Regions from separate parts of the Homo sapiens genome. Here regions 1, 2, 3, 4, 6 and 7 are each linked to region 5. The links are contacts of gene promoters, found by promoter capture Hi-C in blood cells and fetal thymus (Javierre and others, 2016). All regions are on one chromosome and are shown on one strand. The core of a region is centred on a gene start or on the middle of the fragment in contact, and the rest is flanking DNA. Distances in the headings are between cores, read along the strand shown.

Region 1 (2,700 bases), core at 100-2,599, 320 kb after region 5:
AGTAATATTTACCTTGAAGCAGCCTAAAACCAATGGGTGATGGGGCAGTATGCCAGCAGAAGGTCTGGGTTCCTCAAAGTTCCTCATACCTCCCCAGTGACTCCCAACCTGGATTGTTTCGAATCTGACTATGGACCACTAAGCACTCAAGTCTAAATTACATGTCTTAGTTCTGCTAGGTAAAAGGAGAAATCCCAATCTTACTGTCTGAGATGCACAGGAGCTGGGAGTGGAGAGGGAGGAGGAAAAGTATGTGCTCCCTGGCATTCCTAGTGGTAATACTGAATGCATTCCTCCCACACTACTGTTATCCATGGGGATTAGGCGTTTTAATATTGGTAGATACTTCACGAATTAAACATGCTTTTGTGGGTTTATCTAGACTCTTAAATATCACATGAAATAAAGCAATTAGAATAGTCTTTATAAGGTACATATTTATAGTACTATAATTACGATACCTTTTAATGTCAAGTTGATTTTGAGTGCCCAACATCTGATACAATTTTAGACTAGAACCTCTTGTAAAATTTAGGACTTGTTATCAAATGAAGAATCTATCTGACACATTTTATATTTTTCCTCCCATGAATATCTAATACATGATATGAATAAAACTAGACAGAGATTTTGTATACTAACCTGTCGAACCAGGCTCTCAAAAAAGTTTTCTTTAAGCAGCAGCCATCCTCCAGTACAAGGCATTGTGCTAAAATGCCTTTGCAGGGGAAGGCAATGAGAAATGAGGATAAAGGAGAAAGACCTGGTTTGTCCCTGACTCTGATTTGCAACTGAGTTGGGGTGAGGAGTTCCAGAGTTTACAGACTGGTATTGTTATAATTCATGAATACGAGTTCTCAATAAATCATTGCTAGCCCTTTAAAAGACTCACAGAATTTTAAAGGGTAGAGATGGGGAGAGAATATTACAAGTGGAAGAGGCAGAAATAAACAAAAGGCACAGAGACAGTAAATCACAAATTGATATTAGGAAGAAGTTAGTCATCTGTTTGTGGGGGGCATGGAGAATGCCAAGAAAAATAGTGTGAAATAAATCTGAAAAGGTATGTTGAAGTCAGACTTAGGAGGACCTTGCATGACAGATTAAGGCATTTGGATTGTATTCAGCAGGCATGGGGAAGCCACTGACTACCTTTAAGCAAGGAAGTGATAGGCCCCAAAGCAGTAGTACAGAAAGATCAATCTGACAGCCCTGAATAGGAAAAAATGAAGGGCAGAGACAGAGACAGAGAGAGAGAGAGAGAGAGAGAGAGAGAGAGAGAAAGACAAAGGGATCATTCAAAGGCTACCGAGGTAGGTCAAGCAGAAGAAGGTAAACATCTTAATAATGGAAAATTTTATACACACACACACACACACACACACACAGGTGTGTGTATATATATATATATAATTTCTAAGTATATATATTAAAGGATATATATATATAATAAAAGGTATATACATACACTTACAAATGAATGAATACAAGAGAAAATTCTGAAAGAAGAATCAAAAGGACTTTGATTAAATACTGATGGAGGGACAAGAGATTTACTTCTCTAGGTACAGGCACAAAGAAACAACATAGAAATTACATTGAATTCAACCTTGGTCTCAATTTTGAAAACAGAAGCATCACTTAACCTTTATTAGTAAACAGCTTACTCCTATAATAATCCTAAGGTTTCTACTATGAATCACTTAGTTCAACCAATTTTAAAGAGCAGAGATGCCCATTCTCTGCAAAAGGCTATATATGGATTACATTTAAAAAGAGAACTTAGTTCAGGATTTCCCCAGTGGGACAACACTGGCACATAGCAAATGCAATGCAAATCATTCTTTACCCCAACATTCACCCTCAGAAGACTGTTCCCCGTGGTAAATGCAGCTAAAATAAAAGAGTCAATTAGAGGTGGAAGATGCAAATTTAAAAATAAAAAGCATAGCCGGGCACGGTGGCTCACGCCTGTAATCCCAGCACCTTGGGAAGCTGAGGCGGGTGGATCACCTGAGGTCAGGTGTTCAAGACCAGCCTGGCCAACACAGTAAAACCCCATCTCTACTAAAAAGGCAAAAATTAGCCAGGCGTGGTGGCGCGCGCCTGTAGTCCCAGTTACTCGGGAGGCTGAGGCAGGAGAGTCACTTGAACTGGGAGATGGAGGTTGCAGTGAGCCAAGATTGTGCCACTGCACTACAGCCTGGCCGACAGGGTAAGACTCCATCTCAAAAATAAATAAATAAATAGCCGAAAACTGAATGGAAAATGAAGTTCTAAAAAGGATTAGTTCATATGAAATAGAGAAGAAATACAAGCCATATACTTAACAGAGTAAGAAATGGATGGTTAGATTAGTAAGACAAAGTAAAAACATAGTGAAAAAAACACTACGGACAAATTAACAAGTTATTCCTGTTATTTCAAACTTTTGATATTGTTCTCCCAACAGATATGTCCCCAAGCAAATATAGTTTCTCTACCCATCCCTCAACTTTTTTCATCTCCGTATTTACAACTTAGCCACATCTGGCAAGTTCAAGTCTTGTCTCCTTTCAATTAGTCCATTCTACAAGTAACACCAGAATGTTCTTCCAACTATATCAATTTGCAACCTCATACTAATCAGCAAACCCTTCTGATGGTTCTAGATACCCTCTGGCTCATGCATAAACTTATCTATTGACTTCAAGACTCTCT
Region 2 (2,700 bases), core at 201-2,700, 340 kb after region 5:
TCCCCAATGACTCTACTCTCTATATTAATTTTTTAAATTTTATTTTATTATTATAAGTTTTAGGGTACATGTGCACAATGTGCAGGTTAGTTACATATGTATACATGTGCCATGCTGGTGTGCTGCACCCATTAACTCGTCATTTAGCATTAGGTATATCTCCTAAAGCTATCCCTCCCCGCTCCCCCCACCCCACAACAGTCCCCAGAGTGTGATGTTCCCCTTCCTGTGTCCATGTGTTCTCATTGTTCAATTCCCACCTATGAGTGAGAACATGCAGTGTTTGGTTTTTTGTTCTTGCGATAGTTTACTGTGAATGATGATTTCCAATTTCATCCATGTCCCTACAAAGGACATGAGCTCATCATTTTTTATGGCTGCATAGTATTCCATGGTGTATATGTGCCACATTTTCTTAATCCAGTCTATCATTGTTGGACATTTGGCTTGGTTCCAAGTCTTTGCTATTGTGAATAGTGCCGCGATAAACATACGTGTGCATATGTCTTTATAGCAGCATGATTTATAGTCCTTTGGGTATATACCCAGTAATGGGATGGCTGGGTCAAATGGTATTTCTAGTTCTAGATCCCTGAGGAATCGCCACACTGACTTCCACAAGGGTTGAACTAGTTTACAGTCCCACCAACAGTGTAAAAGTGTTCCTATTTCTCCACATCCTCTCCAGCACCTGTTGTCTCCTGACTTTTTAATGATTGCCATTCTAACTGGTGTGAGATGGTATCTCATTGTGGTTTTGATTTGCGTTTCTCTGATGGCCAGTGATGGTGAGCATTTTTTCATGTGTTTTTTGGCTGCATAAATGTCTTCTTTTGAGAAGTGTCTGTTCATGTCCTTTGCCCACTTTTTGATGGGGTTGTTTTTTTCTTGTAAATTTGTTTGAGTTCATTGTAGATTCTGGATATTAGCCCTTTGTCAGATGAGTAGGTTGCGAAAATTTTCTCCCATTTTGTAGGTTGCCTGTTCACTCTGATGGTAGTTTCTTTTGCTGTGCAGAAGCTCTTTAGTTGAATTAGATCCCATTTGTCAATTTTGGCTTTTGTTGCCATTGCTTTTGGTGTTTTAGACATGAAGTCCTTGCCCATGCCTATGTCCTGAATGGTAATGCCTAGGTTTTCTTCTAGGGTTTTCATGGTTTTAGGTATATTAATTTCTTTAAAACTAATCATTTTCTACCACCACATCTACTCCTCAACACATCTCTGCTTCTATGCTTATTAAATCCCATTCTTCACTGACCTCTCTCTGCTGCCCCTGTTTTTAATAAGCACAGCCATTAAAAAGAATAATGTAGATCTATATATACTGGCTTGGAAAGGAATCCACAATAAATAGAATAATACAGTCTTATACACCAAGTACCTATGTGTGTGTTTGTATATGAATAGACAAAAGGCTAGAATAGTGCTATTTAATAGAATTATAATGCACCTCACAATATAATTTTAAGTTTTCTAGTAGCTGCATTTAAAAAGAAAAAAAACAAGTGAGTATCAATAAATTTCATTTTACTCAATATATCCAAATTATTTCAACATGTGATCAATATTTTAGAAATCAAGATATCGTACATCTTCTTCCTAAGTCTTTAAAATCCAATATATAGCTTATGCATACAGCATATCTTAATTTGGACCAGTCACTTTCAGGTACCTAACAGCCATATATGGCTACTGGTTGTCATATTGGACAGTACAGATCTAAAAGGCTACACACCCAACTGTTAAGAATGGTTTCCTTTGGAGAGAGGGACTGGCTAGGTAGAGAATAAGAAATGAGGAAATTTAACTTCTAATTTTATCTTTTATTACATTTGCAATGAATATTTCTATTTTATCATAAAAACAATAAAAACTGACTCCAACTACAGACCCTCCAGCATTATTCTAGGTGCCCCACTAATAGAACTATCTTTTCCTCTGATATCAAGTCTAATTTCTCTGCCTCAATGATTCTGTTATTACTCAAAAACCCTCTCCTTTGTGACCCCAATCCCTCACTGGTAATCTTTCACTCTTCACAGCTCTACAGTATCTCACATTTAATCTCTACACTATCCAAACTCCTGTAGCCACTACTCAAAGGCTACAGGTGAGTTAACCACTTACTCATGTTTCATGATGTTCAACTGCGGGAGGGTCTGATTTGGGACCACAAAACTCATTCTCGCACAAATGTCCTTATAATCTTGATTCCTTCTCTCAAAGTCCTCCACGTGTGCAGCCAGATGGGAATTGACAATGCAAAAGGTGGTGTTGTGAAATACAAATCTCACAGCTACCCCACCTTTGTTTCCCTGTTAGCAAGAGTAATTATTCAATTAGTACACAGAACAAGCAACTGAACTTTACATGAACATGAATAATAATCAAGCTCATTTCCAAAGTAACTCACCATTTTCCCCATGATTCCAGTTCCAACTGTTTCTGTAGCAATATCACGAATGTATCGACACTGATCCTTTCTGGCAAATATAAGAAGCATCATCCCAACAAGGCGCACCAGTTGAACCTATGAGTTCCGGGGAGTTACAAAAGGTTAATGTTAATACCAATCTTTGCCACATTTCTAATGTCCCACGACTAATTTTCCATCAAGATGATATACTAGTGCCCAAATCTGACTTCATATCCTCTAATTTCTCAGTGGACCCCGTCAAGTGGAAACTAATATTCTCTG
Region 3 (2,700 bases), core at 201-2,700, 360 kb after region 5:
AGGATAACCTGGGATAGGATAAGTAATTACTTAGATAGAACTAAGGGAAATAAAAGTATTAATGCTGTTTTTCTGCTGTGATCCTTCTTGCCTAATTTGCAGGGGTTTGTACTCTAAGGTGATTACAGGAATATGGGGCAGGCCCCTTTCCATCTGGAAAGTTCATGAGTTGAGTGGAGAGTCCTATAAACCCAGATGGAAACCAGAAACCAGATAAAAGGCTGAGAAATCAAGGGTTAAGGAGGAAGAGCTTACTTTGAGGAAGATAAACACAAACCACTAAAATCTCAAAATACATAAACAAGAAATGGTGTTGAACATTAGCATTAAAGCTTCATCTGGACAGTACTGTTAAAAACTATTACAAAACAAATAAACTGAGAATTTAAGTGAATTTCACCAACATTTATTGAGTATTTACTACGTGTTACCCACTAAATTACAATAAAAGAGTAGGGCTAAGAATAAGCATAAAAATTCTGAGTGTAATTATTCATTTCAGAATATAAAGATTAGAAATAATTGGTATACAGCAAAACAATGGAATTCAGAATTTGGTAGTTGTCAAACAGAAAAGAGTGACAAATCCTGAATGCCAACTCTGCCTTATCCCTAGGAAACACTTTGATTTGTTCAAGGAAGGTTAAAGGTCAAACAGGTTTTGTCATAATCTATTATCCTTGAAAAATATGAATCTTAAGTGTTTGATTCCCTGTTTCCAAAAAAACCCTGATTTTTAATTGTAATTTTGGTCAAGCAAATTTCCTATGGTTGACAGTAGGAACCACAGACCTAAAGATTTAAGTCAGGCTTCAAGTTCTAGGATAAAAAAGCCAAAAGTAAAAAGTTCTGGACACTCGAGTCAGAAAAGACACCAGAGAGACAAGAATATGAGGATTACAGATGGTATTATGGTATTAGGTGTCTCCAGCAAATGCTTTCAAGAGAAACTTCTCAGTGTAATTCTGAGACATGTTACATAGGATCAGATCTCAGGTATTCTACTCCCTAATTGCAAACAAGTGACTTAACCTGTCTGTGCTTCAATTTCTGTATCTATAAAAGGGGGATGATGATATTACTATCTTATAGTAACCCTCACATGTGGATTAAATGAACTAACTAATGAAAAGGGCTTAGAACAGTACCTGGCACATAAGCAGCCATTGAATGTTAGTTATATAGCAACAACTATATTAGTTGTTAGTTATATGTTAGTTTATATATAAACTATAGTTTATATGTATTTAAAACTATAGTTTATATATATTTAAAACTATTTACATAGTTTATATATAAACTGCTAATATAGCAACAACTATATTAGTTGTTAGTTATATAGTTGTTATATAGTGTTACCTATATATTAATGTTAGTTATATAGCAGCCCCATACCCCCACATATACCCCCAACTATACCCCCATAACTTACACAGAATTGGAACACACGACTTCCTTATTAGCTCAACAGAGTTCCAAATCTACTAATCCGAGGGACTAGATTCTGGGCTGTGGTCATCTCAACAATGTAGCTACTCTATTCAATCTTCATGATTTTGTTTTTACATTAGAGGAAACCAAGGCACACAAGTTTTACTGGTTTGCCCAAGGGTCACCTCTCTGTAACCCACTCTAGCCTTTGGAAATGTTAGTGGTGTTCCACTTTTCTGCTGAATTTTGTTTTATTAAATTCTGAATTTAGTTTAGTTTCATTAAACTAGTCTTCCAGGGTTTGATGAAATCCGGGTTTGATGAACTTCCCAGTAGAGCTGACTAAGCAGGACCTATGAAAGAGCTACTTCACAGAATTAGCTGACATCCAGTTAGAGTGGCACCAATAGTCTCAGAGAAGAGCAGGTTGGGCCAGTGGGAATTTCTTCCGTGTAAATCTGACAGCATAGATACAGAGGATCTAAAAGTGGGGACTGAGAAAATTGGTTTTAGGCAGAAGCCAATGTTGGGAGATGGCAAGATTTAAGTGAACAATTTTTAAACTGGGAAGGAATATGATGTCAAGAAGCCAATGAATATCCAAGTGAGGTGTCTTGGGCACACAGGGATAGGGGCCTATGATACGTAATGGTCACCATGGATATTTTTGAGATAAGATATTAGTGACAATAGAGTGAGGTTAGCAGCTATGGTGATAGCTTATCAAAATAATCTTTTGATCAATCAGTCAACAGTATTTACGGAGCTCCTATGGCAGAGAGGAAGGTGACACACTGATAAAATACTGTCATTTCTATCTCTACACATTTCATTACCTTTTCTTTCTAACAGTAAAGTCAGTAAGTGAGGCAGTTTCTGGCCTACACTAAACCATTACTGAATTAATGAATATGCCTTCAACCCAGTGGGATAAGGGGACGGGGAGACTGGAGAAACCAGCTGAATAGGGTTAAGACAAGTCTGTAACGTTAACAATGAAGCATTTCCATAGCACTTTTACTTTTTGGAAGCCACTCTCGCATTTATTTTTCCCCCAGTTATAATTCCAAAGGCTGTAAGGTAAGGCAGTTAATGGTTTTATTAAACTGAAGAGTTAACTTTGGCCCAGAAAGCTTTATTGACTTGCCCAACGTTACACAACACATGTCAGTTGCAGGGGCAGGAACTAAGAACCCAGGCTTCCTGCTTCCCCGCCCATTCAGTCCTTCCACTGAGCCACACTGCCAAGCACAATCCAGAGGCTTGGAA
Region 4 (2,700 bases), core at 95-2,594, 320 kb before region 5:
CCTTATTTAAAGCTCAAATTTTTCCATTTTAAAATAAATTGCAGGCGTTTACCAAAACCAAAGAGAAGTGTTTTGGAGGTGTGAAAAAAGATAAAAACCCAAACCTTCACAATGATTGCTATGTAGGTTGATGACATTATCACTTTGTTTCAAGATTATTTTCTTTAGTGATTCATAATAATTGTAAGTAGTTGACCCAGTCTTAAAACTGTTGTTTACATTGAATAACTTTACTTTGAAATTCAGCAAAAAGTTTTAGTAAGCCCTTTGAAAATGGTATGTCCATTTATATTGTACTCTCTGCCATTGAACATCATAGTTCCTTCTCTTCAGAAGCCTTTCAGAGAAGCTAAAATAGCAGAAGGTAAAACTGAAAAATAGACAGTGCTACAAAGGGCACAGCCTGCTAAGAAAAATGAATAGTTTGTGCTAACAGTAAGCCAGTATAATTAGATAAAACAAAAGGTTCTTGTAATTATAGTCATTAAAATTGCTATTGCATGCATTTAGAAACCAAGACACAAATAAAAATATACCAGCAGTTTGTCTTTTGAGCAGCTGAAACCTTCAGAGCTTTCAAAGATTTGTCTCTTCACTGTAGCTGCTTTTGGTGGTAGAGTTTCCATCCTTTCAGTATTTTATTTTAAAATGTAAATAGTATTTCATGTATGGAAAAGAAGCCTGCTATTTTTCTTTGCTAAAAAAAATTTTAAATCTAAAATAATGATATAGTGTTACAGCAAATTAGTGATGTTTCATACTACTACATTAATGGATTATTTTAGAAACAAAGATAAAAAAACCTTACTGAGCCACTTAATGAAAGTAAATTATTTAAAGTACACACTTTATAGAGTGCTTTCAGGCCTTGGAGATGTTATTTTGAGTCATAGAATTACATTTTAAAAATTTATTTTCAGAGACTTATTTGTGAGGTTTTTCTTTGGTTATAAGTCTGAATTTTTGCTCTTACTGGCAAATTGTTTGTAGGTTTATGAACCACATGAAACATCACTTGGAACTTGAGAAGCAGAACAATGAAAGCTGGGAAAACCACACCACCTGCCAGCACTGTTACCGGCAATATCCCACACCCTTCCAACTGCAGTGCCACATTGAGAGTACACACACTCCCCATGAGTTTTCTAGTAAGTGAAAGTTTCTTTGGAATCCTGAATATTGTTGACTTTGATCATCCGAACTGTGAGGAAACCTTAAAAATTCTGGCAGAAAAAAATAAGAAGTAGACTTTGTAATATGAGGGCAAAATTGAAAAAAAAAATCATAACTTTTATAAACCTAGATGAAATGTGTTCTAAAGCCAGGTGTGATGGTGCATGCCTATACACCCAGCTACTGAGGAGGCTGAGGCAGGAGGATCACTTGAGCCCATGAGTTCAGTACTATAGAATGCTATGATCAATTGCACCTGTGAATAGCCACTGCACTCCAGCCTGGGCAACATAGTAAGACCCTGCCTCTACAAAAAAAAAAAAAAAAAAAAAAAGTAGAAGAAAAAAACTGTTAAAATTGAAGTCCCTTGGTCGGGCGCAGTGGCTCATTCCTGTAATCCCAGCACTCTGGGAAGCCGAGGTGGGTTGATCACCTGAGGTCGGGAGTTAGAGACCAGCCTGACTAACATGGAGAAACCCCATCTGTACTAAAAATACAAAATTAGCCAGGCAAGGTGGCGCACGCCTGTAATCCCAGCTACTTGGGAGACTGAGGCAGGAGAATCACTTGAACCCAGGAGGCAGAGGTTGCGGTGAGCCGAGATGGCACCATTGCACTCCAGCCTGGGCAACAAGAGCGAGACTCCATCTCAAAAAAATAAAATAAAATAAAATAATTGAAATCTTTCTTATAAACAATTCATTAGTGGAAACTTCCTTGGCACATGCATTGGTGTAGGGGACTAAATTAGAACACCCAGATTCCATGGTTTTCAAATTTGAAGTTAATTGTCTTGATTTACACTTTAGACAAAAGTTAACTACAATGTTAAGATTTAGAGTCTGAGACGCGGACAAATTTGGTTCAGATTCCAACTTTGCCTCTTACTACAGCTGTGAGATCTCAAGCAAGTTTCTTAATTTTTCTGTGCTTCTGGTTCCTCATCTGAAAAATAGGAATAAAAATAACAGTACCTTCCTCAGTGATGTTACGAGAATTAAATAAGCTAATATATCCTTGGAACAGCATTACAGAGTCAACAGCTATAGAATTGTTAGAACCACATCACTGTTACTTCTACTATTATTATTACTTGTTGTGGATGTACAAAATGAATCTTTTTTTATATACATCCTTAAATGGTATAATGTGTTTTTTTCCACTTTCAGCTATTTGCAAAATCTGTGAATTATCATTTGAAACAGAGCATATTCTTTTACAACATATGAAGGACACCCATAAACCTGGTGAAATGCCATATGTTTGCCAGGTACACACACATTTTATTGTGTAGTTAAGTGTTTGTTTAATTTTCATGTGCCATGAAATAGTATTGTTCTTTTGATTTTTTAAAGCCATTTAAATAAAATTAGTTACTATGCTAAAATTGAAGACCCTCTTCATTAGTGGAAACCCCCTTGGGTTTAACTCATGCATTGTAAGTAAAGGGGTGGAGTAGATTTTGCCTGTGGGTTGTAGTTTGCTGACCTCTGTGCTAGATGAGGAAATGCCCTACTAGAGAAAGAC
Region 5 (2,700 bases), core at 137-2,636:
TTTATTTGAGAGACCTGAACAAATACATAGAACATTGTCACACCCTTCCATTCCAGGAATGTGCTCTCTACCCTAATTTTGAAGGCAGTTTAGCAATTGTCACCCACCTCATCTTCACTCTCACTCAAGAGGTAGTCTTTTGGCAAATCCGCTAGTTCTTCCTGTTGGCTCAAAGCCAGAAGGCTGTTAAAAGAGGCAACAGAGAAATGTGAATGCAATATACCCATGTAACAAACCTGCATATGTATCCCTTAATTATAATAAAAGTCGAAATTAAAAAAAGAAATATTATTATTTGAAGCAATGTCTAATCTATTAAAACAATCTCGAAAACATTGTAATTTCAGCACAGAATAGCCCTATCCCTCAGAAGATATATAAAGCAGCGTGAATGCCTTTGGAAACTTGTCAAGATGTGAAATTTAGACTGAAGTCAGGCATCACCTCCAAGAGTGATGCCTGACTTCAAAACTGCATGTAAAAGAGCTATCACTTTTCAGGGATTGGCACAACATTTCCTATGACCTATGGGAAGCTGTAAAAATGTCAGACCCTAGAATAATATGGCCAAAGACGCTGTTGCTAGCTAGCCCTGGAGGCAAGGCAGTTTCACGATTAATATTTCTAAGCATCCTCCATATATTTGACTCATTGATAGGCAGCCTAATCAAAAGTGTTATCTTGATCCTTGTTCCCAGGAATGGAGAAACAGGTCGAAAGCAGCTGGGTAAGCCACTTTCCCTGGGGCTTGCTTAGTAAAGTAGGTGCTTAACTAAGGAGATTGGTACCCACAAACAAATTATAAAATGTACCATTACCTAACAGCATATATTATTAGTATTTGCAAAGCCAACATTACTAAACGGACTACATTTAGTTCCGGGGGCGGGGTGGGGGGGGCACAAAACATCACAGGAGCCAAAACGTGGTGGATGACTCCAATCAGCAAAGCTTTCCAAGATTCGGGGAGTTTATAACGCCTGCACTGCCTGCGCAGAGGATTAAATCGGGCCGCGACAGAGGCAGAAAAAGGGGCCACGTGACGAAAAATGTGAAACACAGTAAATGAGCTGGGGAGGCAGAAACAGCATCAGGACCAACAGGGATGCGGCTATACAGCTGAGGAGCGGAGTAAGCGAATGAAATTAAATTAAAAGGGCTTTAAAGGCTGGATCGCGGAAAATAGGAACGAATGGCCAGCTCTTCAGGGGAACCACTGCCATCTGTTAAAGGGGGGGCTCCCATTTCCCAAAAGCTGGGGAACCCGGCCCCCAACGAGACCCAGAATCCCCCCTCCCCTCGTTGCCCTTCACCTCTCTGCAAGCCGGTTCGCAGTCATTTCAGCAGCCAGCTTCTCTCACATGGACCAAGAACGGAAGCCGAAGGAAAGCAATTTCCGTGCGGGCCGCAAAGCAATTTCTGTTTCCGTCAATCGCTCGCGACGTACACGTCACTTCCGTTCCGTACGAGGCGTGAGAGAAGCAGGAGCCGTGTAGGGAGGGGCCTGCAGAAAACTGGGAGGCCTGAGATGAAACGGCTGTCAGCGGGTGGGGCATTCCTTTCTCCACCCACCCCGTATTTCTCTGGCGCGCGGGTGTCTGTCCTCCTGGCCCCTGGTTTCCACGTGGCCCAAGGTGGGTTAGCTTAGGGCGACGGTGCTGCGCTCTCAGGGGCTGAGCCCGCGCCTTCATTCGTCACTGCAGAATCCAGAAGGAAAGACTACAGCGCCCGTCCTTGTGCGACGGCGTCCTGCAAGCCGACCACAAGCCAGCTCGGGGGTTTATTGAATGCCTATTAAGTGGCCAGATTGTGCCGGGCCCCGGAGATCCGATGGTGAACATAACAAGTTTCCTTCCATTTAAGGAAAAATCGCCTTTGATCCCTTGTAATTGCAGCTTTGTTCTTCATTTCCTGAGTCAAAAGATTTTTTTTATCCAAGAAGGGGCCATCAGTAACTACGCTTCCTCACCTCCCATCAACTTAAAAAAATTTTTTTAAACAACTTTTTTTCTCCCATCAACTTTTAAGAATTTTATTTATTTATTTTTGAGACAGAGCCTTGCTGTGTCGTTCAGGCTGGAGTGCAATGGCGTGATCTCAGCTCACTGCAACCTCCACCTCCCGGGTTCAAGCGATTCTCCTGCCTCAGCCTCCCGAGTCGCTAGGATTACAGGCACCCGCCACCATGCTCGGCTAATATTTGCATTTTTAGTAGAGACGGGGTTTTGCCACGTTGGCCAGGCTGGTCTAGAATTCCTGGCCTCAAGTGATCTGCCCGCCTCGGCCTCCCAAAGTGCTGAGATTACAGGTGTGAGCCACCGGGCCCGGCCTAATATATATATATATTAATTAATGATTGTAGAAAAATAATAGACAAGAACATTCTTTTCATTTTTTTTTTTTGAGACGGAGTCTCACTCCGTCGCCCACGCTGGAATGCAGTGGTGCGATCTCAGCTCACTGCAAGCTCCGCCTCCCGGGTTCACACCATTCACCTGCCTCAGCTTCCTGAGTAGCTGGGACTACAGGCGCCTGCCACCACACCCGGCTAATTTTTTTTTTTTTTTTAAGTAGAGACGGGGTTTCACCGTGTTAGCCAGGATGGTCTCGATCTCGTGACCTCATGATCCACCCGTCTCGGCCTCCCAAAGTGCTAGGATTACAGGCGTGAGCCACGGCGCCCGGCCCGTTCTTTTCATT
Region 6 (2,700 bases), core at 149-2,648, 440 kb before region 5:
GTGACTTGAAAAAACCTTAAAGAAATCCAACTATACTCTTAACAAGTCAGCACCACCAACCTATACTATTCTGGTTCTGAATTCAGAATATTCCAATACAGGCCAAAATATACCATGTTTAAAGCCAAATCTCACCCTGAATAGAAATATTAATAAGACAGGGAAAGACAGAGGCATTACAGACTTAAGATACCCAAATTGGTTACTAAAATAGGCTTCTCCAAGAACTGTATTTCAGTTTACCCCTCTGTTTGGCATCCCAGGTTATACCACAGGTCAACATACCATACCAAGATTTAGAATAGGTGGGGACGTACATTTCTTTTGTAAAATTGAGTAAGGGCTATTATGAACAGATTCATTCTCGTACCAGTTTTAGGATGGAGTACAAATGGATGTAAGAGATCTGGAAATTGATTCCTATAAAACTGCATAGCCCTTGGAAAGAACCTATAGGGTCTTGCATACCCCAGTGTGAGGACCAGTGGATTAACACATATCATAATAAACTGACTGCCATTTATTGAGCATCTACTACACCAAGTACAATGATAGGCAGTTTATATATATATTATCGCTAATCCTTTACAACTCTATGTTATAAACACTGTATTATATTCATTTTTCAAATGATGAAATTGAGGCTTAATGCAGTTAACTGATTTGCCCAAGGTTCTACAGCTGGCAAGTGACAGAGTGGGAATCTGAACCCAAATCTGACTCAAAGTTATGCTCCTTTCAAATCACACTGTATCTCTCTTACCTTTAGAACATCGGTGGGATTGGCTATAGTGGAAGATATCACTCCTGACACTACCCCACAGATCATATTAATTAAAAGAGTTTCATCTGTGAAAAGGAAAAGAAAAAGAAAGGTCTGCTTGTATTAGGCACCAGTTTGAGTACATACTACTGACCTACTGGAGGAAGGGAAACTTGGTTAGAGAGATGACTTTAGAAATGAACCAAAAAGCTTAGGAAAATAAAGAAACTCAAATATTTCTAGATCTCAATTCAGTGCTAAAATATATTAAAACTTGTAAAATATAAATCATTTCTAAAAACATCATTATTTCTAAAGGACACTGGAACACGTCCTTTTCTTCTACATAACTATCAGTATCCCACACACAAATTCAGAAGGTGGTATTTCCCCTTCGACCTTTTCAAACATCTAAAGAACATACTTTTTAAGTCTTTTTCTGGGTAATCATCAACTCTAAAGATTCAGGAACTGAATGTTAAAAGAGAAAATCTTACGTCTAATACAAAAAACTTATTTGAATATTAATTTTGATAGGCCTGAGATCTCTCCTAGCCTCTGTTAATTTATAAAATATTTCTGTAGTCAAATATGAAAAAGCAATCATTTAGAACTAAATCTCCTCAGTGAGAAAAAAGAACAAAGAAACCACAGAGCACATTGTTCTATAGTGAAATTCAATCTTTACCGCTCCTTCACACCATGAAGACCCCACAAATAGAAACTAAATAAACCCAAGTGAAGAATCTATGAAAGAAAAATATTTCAGAAAGAGGTGGAAGAGAACCCTTCACAATCCCCAAAAAAAGGCTTCAGAAAAAGTTGACTTTAGGACAATAAAGTGATTCAAAGGACATTACTAACCGAAAGGCTTTCCAGCTGTCCCCAAACATCCAACAGCCCCAGGCCTGTGGTAAAATAACCATTTAGTGTAGTATCATGATGGAAAATGCTACAGCAGCAAACAGACATATGATAATGCTGAATATGCATAAGGTAGCCAAAGGTACATCAGAATTTAGAAAACAGCCTAAAATTATTCTGCCTAATAAAAGCTTATCAAAATTGCCAGCTAGAAAATGCCTTACAGTTGAAGTCCTCTTATTGATGAAGATAGCATTAATTTTCTGGACAAGATTGTTCCATGTTTCTTTTGGGATGATCACATGCCTTTTTTGTTGATAGGAAAAGGGACAAATTTGAAGAACAGGTCTCTCTAATTCATATATCACCTCTGCAAAGATTTATTCCAAGTTAGAACAAGCTCACTTTGTCTTTGCAGTGACTCTCCTCCATTCTCAGGCACCTCATGACCAACATTTCTCACTAAGCATGATTTCAACAATCCCTTTGAGTATCACCTCAAAAGAGGGTAAGTATACTGACCTTCTAAACGTTCTACGAATAAGCGCTTCAAGCTTTGGTAAATCCCAATTTTAATGGTGCCATATGATGCTTGTCTTAGCAACGCAGGAGCAATTCTGAAAAAAAAAAAAGTAAAAAGTTATTCTCAACATTTTCAGATTATACATATCTAGATAGCCTACTTATTTGGACTACCCATCTCATTCTACCCAACAACAGCAGAATATGATTTTTTTCAAGCACTCATGAAACACTCAGCAAGAAACTGAACATTCTGGGTCATAAAACCAACCTCAACAAATTTAAAAGAACTGAAATCATATACAATATGTTATCTGACAATAATGGAATCAAACCAGAAATCAATAAGAAAAATCCTCAAACATTTAGAAATTAAACAATATATATCTAAATAATCTATTGGTCAGACCAAGTGTCTGTCAAAGGAATTTTTTTTTAATTCACAGGTCTAAATGACAACAAAATTCAACCTATTAAAATGTATGAGATGCAGCCAAAGCAGTGCTGAGGGAAATTTACAGCATGAAATGCTTGCATTTTAAAAAAAAAAA
Region 7 (2,700 bases), core at 40-2,539, 350 kb before region 5:
TTTTTTTTTGGAGATAAGCCCTTACTCTGTTGCCTAGATTGGAGTGCAGTGGCACCTTCATGGCTCACTGCAGCCCCACCTCCTGGAGCTCAGGTGATTCTCCCACCTCAGCTTTCTGAGTAACTAGGACTTGAGTGCACACCACCATGCCTGACTAAGCTGTTCTTTATTCTTGTTTGTTTGTTTGAGTGAGACTCTCCATCACCCAGGCTAGATTGCAGTGGCAGGGTCCTATCTCAGCTCACTGCAACCACCGGCTCCTGGGTTGAGGCGATTCTTGTGCCTCTGCCTCCCAAGCAGCTAGAATTACAGGTGCGCACCACCATGCCCAGCTAATCTTTGTATTTTTAGTAGGGACAGCGTCTCACCATGTTGTCCATGCTGGTCTCGAACTCCTGGCCTCAAGTGATCCACCTGCCTTGGCCTCCGAAAGTGCTGGGATTACAGGCCTGGGCCACCACACTCAGCCACCTGGCAATTTCTGATATTCTGAAATTTCATATGTCCCGCTAGTGTAGTTTTTATTCTTGATCATTGTGCTGGCTGTTAGTGGGCCCTTTCTTTCTGTAGATTTATATCCATGAGAACTAGGAATTTTTTTTGTATTTTCCTTTGATTACTTCTCCTCTCCTTTTTCTCTCTCTTTTTTTTTTTTCTGGAGCTTTTGTTAGGTGCATTTTATACCTTTGAAAATGATTTTTCGGCCGGGCGCGGTGGCTCACGCCTGTAATCCCAGCACTTTGGGAGGCCGAGGCGGGCGGATCACGAGGTCAGGAGATCGAGACCATCCCGGCTAAAACGGTGAAACCCCGTCTCTACTAAAAATACAAAAAATTAGCCGGGCGTAGTGGCGGGCGCCTGTAGTCCCAGCTACTTGGGAGGCTGAGGAAGGAGAATGGCGTGAACCCGGGAGGCGGAGCTTGCAGTGAGCCGAGATCCCGCCACTGCACTCCAGCCTGGGTGACAGAGCGAGACTCCGTCTCAAAAAAAAAAAAAAAAAGAAAAAAAAAGAAAATGATTTTTCTACCAATCTTGTTTTCTGTGTTTAATATATGTGTTTTTTGTCTTTTGGTTTCACATTTACTCAACTTTGACATTTGACTTTTTTTTTTTTTTAACTGAATTTTGGCTGTCTTTATATAATATCGTTGTCTTATCTGTCTAAAGATGTTTATTATATCCTATTATTGTCTCTTGCTCTGTATTATCTGTGTCTTCTTTTTTTAACTTTTATTTTAAGTTCAGGGATACATGTGCAGGTTTGTTATGGGTACACTCATGTCTTGGGGGTTTGTTGTATAGGTTATTTCATCACTCAGGTATTAAGCCTAGTACTCATGAGTTATTTTTCCTGATCCTCTCCCTCCTCCCACCCTCCACCCTCAAGTAGGCCCTCAGCATCTGTTGTTCACCTCTATATGTCCATGTGTTCTCATCATTTAGCTCCCACTTATAAGTGATAACATGTGGTATTAGGTTTTCTGTTCCTGCATTAGTTTGCTAAGGATAATGGTCTCCAGCTCCATCCATGTTCCTGCAAAGGACATGACCTTGCTCTTTTTTATGGCTGCAAAGTTCTCCATGGTGTATATGTACCACATTTTCTTCATCCAGTCTACCATTGATGGGCATTTGGGTCGATTCCATGTCTTTGCTCCTGTGAATAGTGCTGCAGTGAACATATGTATACATGTGTCTTTATGATAGAAGAGTTTACATTCCTTTGGGTATATACCTAGTAATAGAATTGCTGGGTCTAATGGTAGTTCTGTTTTTAGCTCTTTGAGGAATCACCACACTGTCTTCCACAGTGGTTGAACTAATTTACACTCCCACCAACAGTGTATAAATGTTCCTTTTTCTCTGCAACCTCCCCAGCATCTGTTATTTTTTTGACTTTTGAATAGCCATTCTGACAGGTGAGAGATTATATCTCAGTGTGGTTTTGATTTGCATTTCTCTAATGATCAGTGATGTTGTGCTTTTTTTCATATGCTTGTTGCCTGCATGTATGTCTTCTTCTGATAAGCATCTGTTCACATCCACTGCCAACTTTTCAATGGGGTTGTTTGCTTTTTTCTTGTAAATTTGTTTAAGTTCTTTATATATGCTGGATATTAGCCCTTTGTCAGATGCATGATTTGCAAAATTTTTCTCCTGTCTGTAGGTTGTCTGTTTACTCTGTCTCTAGTTTCTTTTGCTCTGTCTATAGTTTCATTTAATTAGAGCCCATTTGTCAATTTTGGCTCTTGTTGTAATTGCCTTTGACGTCTTTGTCATGAAGTCTTTGGCCATTCCTATGTCCAGAATGGTATTGGCTAGGTTGTCTTCCAGGGTTTTTATAGTTTTGGGTTTTACATTGAAGTCTTTGATCCATCTTGAGTTGATTTTTGTGTATGGTGTAAGGAAGGGGTCCAGTTTCAGTCTCTTGCATATGGCTAGCCAGTTATCCTGGCACCATTTATTGAATAGGGAGTCCTTTCCCCATTGTGTGTTTTTGTCAGCTTTGTCGAACGTCAGATGGCTGTAGGTGTGTGGCCTTATTTCTGGGCTCTCTATTCTGTTCCATTGGTTTATATATGTGTTTTTGTACCAGGACCATGTTGTTTTGGTTATTGTAGCCCTGTACCATTTGAAGGCAGGTAGCATGATGCCTTCATCTTTGTTCTTTGTGCTTAGGTTTGTCTTGGCTATCCAGGC

What was found. The method cuts DNA at HindIII sites, captures the fragments that hold promoters and counts their contacts. A CHiCAGO score of 5 or more calls a contact.
Region 1: a contact is called between a fragment that was not itself captured here and the fragment with the promoter of UTP14A in region 5, in 11 of 17 cell types (M2 macrophages, activated CD4 T cells, monocytes and 8 more). The highest score is 9.4, in M2 macrophages.
Region 2: a contact is called between a fragment that was not itself captured here and the fragment with the promoter of UTP14A in region 5, in 2 of 17 cell types (neutrophils and monocytes). The highest score is 9.8, in neutrophils.
Region 3: a contact is called between a fragment that was not itself captured here and the fragment with the promoter of UTP14A in region 5, in 5 of 17 cell types (M2 macrophages, monocytes, naive CD8 T cells and 2 more). The highest score is 7.5, in M2 macrophages.
Region 4: a fragment that was not itself captured here is called in contact with the fragment with the promoter of UTP14A in region 5 in 1 of 17 cell types (naive CD8 T cells); the score reaches 7.3 in naive CD8 T cells.
Region 6: a contact is called between a fragment that was not itself captured here and the fragment with the promoter of UTP14A in region 5, in 2 of 17 cell types (non-activated CD4 T cells and activated CD4 T cells). The highest score is 7.4, in non-activated CD4 T cells.
Region 7: a contact is called between a fragment that was not itself captured here and the fragment with the promoter of UTP14A in region 5, in 2 of 17 cell types (activated CD4 T cells and non-activated CD4 T cells). The highest score is 11.3, in activated CD4 T cells.

What each region holds. Positions count from the first base shown.
Region 1 is chrX:129,580,414-129,583,113 of GRCh38, reverse strand. All of the region lies in intron 18 of OCRL (OCRL inositol polyphosphate-5-phosphatase), which reads right to left. Among named protein-coding and RNA genes, the nearest start is that of OCRL, 42 kb to the right of the region's middle. The HindIII fragment of the contact is 3,432 bases long and covers 1-2,700 here.
Region 2 is chrX:129,562,216-129,564,915 of GRCh38, reverse strand. OCRL (OCRL inositol polyphosphate-5-phosphatase) reads right to left here. Exons shown (of 24, transcript NM_000276.4): 11 at 2,416-2,532; 12 at 2,130-2,317. Among named protein-coding and RNA genes, the nearest start is that of OCRL, 23 kb to the right of the region's middle. RefSeq lists an enhancer at 1-10. The HindIII fragment of the contact is 3,992 bases long and covers 1-2,700 here.
Region 3 is chrX:129,540,990-129,543,689 of GRCh38, reverse strand. The region is part of intron 2 of OCRL (OCRL inositol polyphosphate-5-phosphatase); the gene reads right to left. Among named protein-coding and RNA genes, the nearest start is that of OCRL, 2.1 kb to the right of the region's middle. The HindIII fragment of the contact is 2,232 bases long and covers 335-2,566 here.
Region 4 is chrX:130,227,425-130,230,124 of GRCh38, reverse strand. ZNF280C (zinc finger protein 280C) reads left to right here. Exons shown (of 19, transcript NM_017666.5): 10 at 991-1,148; 11 at 2,343-2,443. Among named protein-coding and RNA genes, the nearest start is that of ZNF280C, 40 kb to the left of the region's middle. The HindIII fragment of the contact is 3,165 bases long and covers 1-2,700 here.
Region 5 is chrX:129,904,850-129,907,549 of GRCh38, reverse strand. UTP14A (UTP14A small subunit processome component) reads right to left here and starts at 1,386. Exons shown (of 15, transcript NM_006649.4): 1 at 1,314-1,386; 2 at 108-183. The coding sequence starts at 1,339. LOC105373335 (a long non-coding RNA gene) reads left to right here. Exons shown (of 3, transcript NR_188631.1): 3 at 1-286. The HindIII fragment of the contact is 20,573 bases long and covers 954-2,700 here.
Region 6 is chrX:130,348,795-130,351,494 of GRCh38, reverse strand. SLC25A14 (solute carrier family 25 member 14) reads right to left here. Exons shown (of 11, transcript NM_001282195.2): 5 at 2,150-2,244; 6 at 764-849. Among named protein-coding and RNA genes, the nearest start is that of SLC25A14, 10 kb to the right of the region's middle. The HindIII fragment of the contact is 845 bases long and covers 976-1,820 here.
Region 7 is chrX:130,253,442-130,256,141 of GRCh38, reverse strand. The region is part of intron 2 of ZNF280C (zinc finger protein 280C); the gene reads left to right. Among named protein-coding and RNA genes, the nearest start is that of ZNF280C, 14 kb to the left of the region's middle. The HindIII fragment of the contact is 5,205 bases long and covers 1-2,700 here.